Regions from separate parts of the Homo sapiens genome. Here region 1 is linked to region 2. The links are contacts of gene promoters, found by promoter capture Hi-C in blood cells and fetal thymus (Javierre and others, 2016). All regions are on one chromosome and are shown on one strand. Each heading gives the region's core, a stretch centred on a gene start or on the middle of the fragment in contact. The rest is flanking DNA. Distances are from core to core; before and after follow the strand shown.

The links. The method cuts DNA at HindIII sites, captures the fragments that hold promoters and counts their contacts. A CHiCAGO score of 5 or more calls a contact.
Region 1: a contact is called between the fragment with the promoter of TMEM184A here and the fragment with the promoter of EIF3B in region 2, in 3 of 17 cell types (non-activated CD4 T cells, naive CD4 T cells and naive CD8 T cells). The highest score is 7.5, in non-activated CD4 T cells.

Annotation. Positions count from the first base shown.
Region 1 is chr7:1,554,380-1,558,102 of GRCh38, reverse strand. TMEM184A (transmembrane protein 184A) reads left to right here and starts at 1,898. Exons shown (of 9, transcript NM_001097620.2): 1 at 1,898-1,989; 2 at 2,619-2,837. The coding sequence starts at 2,619. RefSeq lists silencers at 1,623-1,712, 1,753-1,822, 3,190-3,372 and enhancers at 1,480-2,279, 2,416-2,710, 2,280-3,080. The HindIII fragment of the contact is 30,451 bases long and covers 1-3,723 here.
Region 2 is chr7:2,352,749-2,356,457 of GRCh38, reverse strand. It overlaps EIF3B (eukaryotic translation initiation factor 3 subunit B), which reads right to left and starts at 1,631. Exons shown (of 19, transcript NM_001037283.2): 1 at 1,038-1,631. The coding sequence starts at 1,536. It also overlaps a transcript of SNX8 not described here. RefSeq lists silencers at 1,175-1,284, 1,335-1,424, 1,605-1,744 and enhancers at 2,545-2,614, 2,285-2,840. The HindIII fragment of the contact is 9,918 bases long and covers 1-3,709 here.

The DNA of each region.
Region 1 (3,723 bases), core at 649-3,148, 800 kb after region 2:
GGTGATGGGACAGCGGGGATGGTCTCTCCAGAGGTGACGCCTGAGGCTGCAGGACAGAGTCACCCGGGAGCAGGGTCGGTTGGTCCAGAAGGTCCCTGCCTGGGGAGCAGGCAGGCTCCAGGAGGGCCCAGCCAGGGTGTGCATGCTGTGGCTCTGGGCCCGGGCCCGGGTGGGCGCTGATGGGGAGGTTAGGCAAGGCGGGCCTGAGAGCTGGGCACGACTTCCTGAGCTTGTTCCCCACCTGGGAGCCTCCCTGGAGGGACAGTGTCAGTGGAGGAGTTGGGAAAAGCAGGCAGGGTGTCCCAGGGAAGGATGGGCCTCAGCCCGGGCCCCTCACGGACCCCTCAAGGATGCTGGACGCGTTGATGCGCCTCTCGTTCCCATCTCTAAAAGGGGAACAGGCCGGACGTGGTGGCTCAAACCTGTAATCCCAGCACTTTGGGAGGCTGAGGCGGGCAGATCACCTGAGGTCAGGAGTTCAAGCCCAGCCTGGCCAACGTGGTGAAACCCCGTCTTTACTAAAAATACAAAAATTAGCTAGGTGTGGTGGTGGGCGCCTGTAATCCCAGCTACTCGGGAGGCTGAGGCAGGAGAATCACTTGAACCCAGGAGGCGGAGGTTGCAGTGAGCCGAGATCGCGCCATTGTACTCCAGCCTGGCGACAGAGCGAGGCTCCGTCTCAAAAAATAAATTAATTAAAAATAAAAGGGGAACAGTGGCTCCAGTCATTCCAGCCTCAACCCCTTGAGCCCTGTTGCTCAGGGCTGTGGGAGGGTAGGAGATATGAAGGACAAGGAGTGTGTGGATCCGTTGCGGGCATGGAGCGGGACTTGGTAATGGTGGCCCCAGCGGCATGAGCCCAAGCGTAACCAGAACAGGACAAGAGGTGGGCTGAGGGCCCACATCCCTCTCCCAGGAGCCGGGGTGAGTGAGTTTTTTCTCCACAGGGGCCTCTGCATGGGGGTGACAGGGACCCTCAGGGCCCCGCAACCCCTTGCCAGACCCCAAAGGGTCCAGGGACTGGGCTGTCACTCCCCCTCTCCTGCCTTGATCCACAAAAACCAGAAATATTTCCTTTTTTTTTTTTTTTTTTTTTTGGACACAGAGTCTCCCTCTGTCCCCAGGCTGGAGTGCAGTGGTGTGATCTCAGCTTACTGCAACCTCCGCCTTCTGAGTTCAAGCGATTCTCCTGTCTCAGCCTCTTGAGTATCTGGAATTACAGGTGCACGCTGCCACACCTAGCTAATTTTTGCGTATTTCGTAGAGACGGCGTTTCACCATGTTGGCCAGGCTGGTCTCGAACTCCTGACCTCAAGTGATCCACCCACCTTGGCCTCCCAAAGTGTGGGGATGACAGGCGTGAGCCACCACGCCCGGCCCAGAAAACAAATGTTTTCAACTCATCTCTTGGGGCGTGGATTTTTTTTTTAATTCAGATGAAATTCACATAACATCAATTTACCCAGGTTTAAGTGAACGATTCGGTGGCGGTAAGTATATCCACAGTGCTGTGTGCCTGCCGCCTCTACCTCATTTCAGGACTCCTGTCACCCCCCAGAGAAACCCTGTACCATTAGCTCTCCACCCCTCCTCCTGCAGCCCGGCCCTCCTTGGCCTGCCGCAGACCTCTCCCACGTGTCCCCACCAGGTGGCAGCTGCCTGGCCGTCTGGCATAGGCAGGTGAGGGCGCCAGGCGGCCAGCAGGTTCCTGGGAGCCAGCTGCCACCCAGCAAACAACCGGGAGGATAGGGTGTCAGCCGTGGGAGGGGACAGGAGGGGACGGGCCTGCAGCCTGGGGCCCAGGTGGGCCACTGGGGACGTGAGGCACTGGCCGCCCCGCCCCAGCCTGGCACAGCCCTTCAGATCCTGGCCTTGCCGCACCCACAGTGGGGCCTCCAGTTGGGGCCACGTGGCCATGAGAATGACCAGCTAGGCTTCCCTGGAGGCCAGGCCTCCCTGGACTGGGCCAGGTGCTTCCTGCCAGCAAAGGTAGAGCTGGGCCCTGTGACCGCAGACCAGAGGGAGAGGAGGAGGCTGGACTGGGCTGCGAGTGTGGGAGAGGGTGGACTCAGGGCCCCAGCAGGTTAGTGGGAGATGGAACAGGCACCCAGGGCTGCCAAGAACCCCAGCAAAGCCGGGCTCCCAGGTGGGTGGACAGGTCCCAGAGCCAGTGAGGGCCGGCTCCTCCCATGAGGGTGGCTGCACACCCCCTCCTGCCGGGGCAGGCAGTGCTGGTCTGCGCCCGCTCCCCAGCCCTCCCGGGCAGGCAGGGCGGCAGGGGTTCCCCCTCTTCTGCCCCACTGGAAGACGGTCTTTGTCCCCTAAGAAGCAGGCTCCCTGCAAGCCTGAGACTCGGAGTTGGAAGCTGGTTTTACAAGGGGGAATTGAGGTGGGACCCTCAGGTCGCAGGTGGTTGATGGGTGAGCTTCGATGGCTGAGCTCGGAGCAGGGAGGGAGCCGGGCCTGGCGCTGGTGTCCGTGTGGGGGGTGCGGCCTGGTGGGTGGCTCAGCCTCAGCTCCCGTCTCACTGTCTCCTCCCTCCCCCGCTGCTTCCTGCTGCCGGGAGCCAGTACCTTTGCCCTCACTCCTCCCGGTGTGTGTCCTCCCTCCCTCTGCAGATGAGTAATGTCTCAGGGATCCTGGAGACAGCCGGCGTCCCCCTGGTGTCAGCGAACTGGCCGCAGCCCAGCCCCCCACCGGCTGTGCCAGCTGGGCCGCAGATGGACCACATGGGGAACAGCTCCCAGGGGGCCCCCTGGCTCTTCCTCACCTCCGCACTGGCCCGAGGCGTCTCGGGGATCTTCGTGTGGACTGCCCTGGTGCTCACCTGCCACCAGGTAAGCCCTTCCGCCCCCGAGCCTCCTTCAGGACCTTGGTCTCCACAGGACGTGGCCGTGGCTCAGCCCGGTCCCCCTGGGTGCCGCTGCTATAGACGCTGTCAGAAGTGGGATCGGCCAGGGCACGGGGGAGGGGATGAGCTTCCCCAGGATGTGGCATGTGGGAGCTGGGCCTGAAAATGGGGAGATCTCTGCCAGGCTGAGGGCAGAGCGCCCACCGGGCACCCCTGGCTATTTCACAGGCTCGTCACTCGGCTCACTGAGGTCTGCAGTGTGGTCCCATTTCACAGACAAGAAGACTGAGTCTCAGAGAGACCAGAGGTCTTTCCCAGGCTCACATAGCTGGAAAGGGGAAGGGGCCTTCTCCTTCCAGAGGCGTGACACCCTGGAGAAGGCTGGTGGGAGGTTGGCAGGGGGTTGGACTTTGCTCTGTAGGGAGCTGGGGAGCAAAGGTCACAGCTTGTTAGAGGGACCGGGACTCCTGTGCAGGAGATGGGCGAGAAGCAACTTCCCCAAGCCCGAAGCCACACACAGCCCCCGACCCGGAGCAGTCCCCAGGTGGGAACAGAACAGCCCCCAGGTAGAGAAGCGGCCAGGCGCTGTGGCAAGGAAGGGCCAGGCAGGGGCAAGGAGGAAGTGGTGCCCGAGGGCAGGGGCTGGGCAGAGAGGGCAGGGAGTCAGGGACAGGACCCTCCTGAGAGACTCAGATACACAGAGAGGCCAGGGCGGTGTGCGCAGGGGTGGGGTGGGAGTGCGTGTGTAGGCCCGCGAGGGCCACACGGCTGCAGGGATTTGTCCAGAGCCCTTGACCCCAGTGCGGTGAGGTGGCTTTCAGGGGGTGCTGGGAGCCCAGGAAGGCTGTGGAGGGCTGGGCTGAGGGCAGAGC
Region 2 (3,709 bases), core at 382-2,881:
GCTAATTTTTTTTTATTTTTAGTAGAGACGGGGTTTCACCGTGTTAGCCAGGATGGTGACCTCGTGATCCACCCGTCTCGGCCTCCCAAAGTGCTGGGATTACAGGCGTGAGCCACCCAGCCCGGCCCTCTGATAGCCTTTTAAAAATACGTTTAAATCATAAATTGGCAACTCCATGTTATTCCCGAAATTGTCCTGGTGTATCGCTGGCTACATCAGCAAGGGTATTTTTATTTTTCTCACTCTAGTATCAACTTAGCCAATCTGCAGAGGCTGATGTGTTCCCAACTTAAAGGCTTAAGAGAGCTAAAAAACAAAAGAAAAACAAATGAGACCAGCTCTCATCAGAAGTAGCTTCAGGAAAAAATCTCTGAGACAGGAAGCAAAAATATGCCTGTAAATCCAATCAAGGTTGAGATGAAGGCAAAGCTGGCTGTTATCGGCAATATTAAAACCTGGAAAAATAACTCTCTTTATAGATTTAGCGCAAGAGATAAAGAAAAATCAAACTGGAATTTCACAGGGTGCCTGTCCCACTAAGGAAGTCTCTGGAGATGGACAATTCTGAGGGGCAGGAGGACAAAATCACCGGCTCTGCCACAAGCTGTTCCTCCGATCCAGACCTTGGGAGGTCTGACTGGTCAGCTCTGGGGACACGTAGACCCGCAAACCTGCCACCGGGTCTTCGGTTTTTGCCGTACCCCCAGCTGCTACACTCACAGCACACCCAGCCATAACGGAGTACCCCATGTGCCCTCTCCCACCCTCTCAGATTTCTGGTTGTCATGCAAATGCCTGGCTCCCGAAGTGAGCTCCACCCTGTCCCCTTTTTCAGGAAAGAAAAGGGGAGGCGCTGGGCTCTCAGAACACTTCCAGGGCACTCGGGAACCCCTCCCTCGGTGGCTTCTCAGGAACACACGGACACCCTCGCTGGAACTTCTGCACGAACCGGTGGCACAGCCCGACGATATCTCCCACCTCGGGAACCCCAGCCACGCTCCCGCGCCGCTCGCCAGCCCCGCCCCGGGCGCCCTCACCTTCCTCGCTCACGTCGTCCACGAAGTCCTCGGGGTCGCTGAAGGAGGGCTCGTCCGCGTCGCCGTTCTCCAGCGCCCGGGGTTCGGCCTCGGCCGCTCTGCCCTCGTTTCCTCCCGCGTCCTCGGACACCGCCTGGGCCCGGCTGTCGGAGCGCTCGTCCCGAGCCTGCTCTCCTGGGGCCTCGCCCTGTGCCGGGACAGGGGGCTCAGCATGCGACCCGGGCAGCTCCTCGGCGGCCGGCGGCGAGGGCGACTCGGACGGGCCGGAGGCCGCCTCTGCCTCGGCCGCCGGCTCGGTCCTCACCTCGGACTCCGGCCCGGCCTCCGCGATCCCCACCTCCTCACTGGAGGCCTCGGTCCCCGCGGCCTCCGGAGCGCCGGGCCCCGCGGGCCGCAGCAGCCCCTCGGCTGGCGGCGGCTCGGCGGCCGGCTGCTGCTGGCCGGGCTCGGCGCGCTCCTCGGCCGCCTCGGGCACCGCCACGTTCTCCGCGTCCTGCATGGGCCCAACGCTGCCTACTCGCAGGGCTCCGCGGCCGCCGCGCTTCCGACTCTCCCAGGCCGCACCGCGCGCCGCGACGGCTACAGCCCAGCCATGTGCGTGCGACGGGGAGGCCGCACCAAGGCCGCGGGGCGGGGGGCGCACCCACGCCCTGGGGCCTCACGAACGACCCTGAGAGGACTCGCATCCACAAGACCGCGCCCGAAAATCATCAAACTGATATATTTGTGACAAGAAAGTGCTTAATTCCATTCAGCAAGGTTGTTTCTGTGCATCAGTAAACTCATGGGAGCATTGACCACCCCATGTGTGGCAGCAGATGGTTCCGTCCAACATGGCGTCCTCCCCCTTTCCTTTCCCGTCGGACGCTGCGGGGCGGGACTGAACTATTTGTGGAGCTGAAGGCGGGGACAAGAAATGATTTTAGTACCCGGAATGCTAGGAAAATGTCCTCTAACTCAACAGTTAATACCCTGGAAGAGTGGAGACTCAACAGGCGATTGCTCAGGGCGTCTGAGCCTTTCGCTAGGGAAACCGTTTAGTTTACGTTACTAAAGTCCCCCCTGTCCGTGTCTGTCACTTGGACTCGCCTACTGACTGAGCAAAAGGACAGACTACTTCAAAATAGAAAAGGAATTCGGGGCGAGCCAGAGAGGGCCCACACGACTAGAAGGACGACTGCCTGGCGCGATACAAAAATGTATGGAAGTTTCTTTAATCGCTTACCCCCAGTCCTTCCCTAGCGGCCGTCACTGCCTGTTTCCCCCCATTCGGGCTTTCACAGTGGTTCAGTCCATCCGAGGCCGCCGCCTTCAGCGCGGGACAGCGCGGGTCACGTGGGGGCGGGGGCGGGTCCTCGCCGCGTGGAGCTCGAGGCTGACTCCGGAGGGACCGGAGCGGTTCGCTCTGCGCGGGTGCTCACGGGACGGGCATTGGGTGCATGTGGCTTCTATCTTGTTTTTTGCCGGAGTGGAGGACAACCACTGGTTGGGGGATGTCTTAATCATCCTAGAAAACAACCCAGTGGATCACGCCTGTTATCCCAGCACTTTGGGAGGCTGAGGTGGGAAGATCGCTTGAGCTTAGGAGTTGGAGACCAGCCTTGCCAACATAGCACCACCACCCCCCGCACGCCAGCCCTCATCTCTACGAAAATTAAATAAATAAATAAAACAGGTGGTACCCAGAGGCTGGGGTGGAGAGTGGGGAGTGTTTATCGGGGACGGACCTTCAATTTGGGAGGATGAGAACGTTTTGGAGATGACGGTGGTGATGGTACAACATGGTGAATGTACTTGATGCCACTGAACTGTATACTAAACTTCATATTAAAATGGCTAGGCCCTGCGCGGTGGCTCACACCTCTCTTCCCAGTACTTTGGGAGGCCAAGACAGGAGGATCACTTGAGCCCAAGAGTTCAAGACCAGTCAGGGCAACATAGCGAGACCCTGTCTTCGAAAAAATAAAATAAAATGCCAAAAAGGTAAATTTTATGTATATTTCATCCTATAGTTTTTTTGTTTTGTTTGTTTTCAGAGATAGGGTCTCGCTCTGTTGCCCAGGCTAGAGTGCGGTGGCATAATCACAGCGCCGCTGCAATCGGGACCTTCCAGCCTCAAGAGAATCCTCCCACCTCAGCCTCCCAAAGTGCCAGGATTACAAGCGTGAACCACCGCGCAGGGCCTAGCCATTTTAATATGCAATTTAGTGTACAGTTCAGTGACATTAAGTACATTGCCAAGTACTTGGGACTGAAGGTATGTGCCACCGTGCCCAGCTAATTTCTTTATTTGTAGATAGCATCTCACTGTGTTGCCCAGGCTGGTCTCAAACTCCTGGCCTCAAGCAGTCTTCCTCCCTCAGCTTCCCAAAGTGCCGGGACTATAGGCATGAGCCACCACACCCATCCCATCCTAACGGTGTTTAAAAGAGCGAAAAAGAAGCAGAGTCTTCCCATGCCTAGTACCAGGTTTGACTACTCCTCATCATGCTGTCAGTGGTGTATCTTTGGGCAGGTCACTTAATGCCTCCACCTCAGTTTCCGCATCTGTACAATAAGGGATGACAATTTTTTTTTTTTTTATTTAGACGGAGTGTTGCTCTGTCGCCTAGGCTGGAGTGCAGTGGCACGATCTCGGCTCACTGCAAGCTCCACCTCCCGGGTTCACGCCA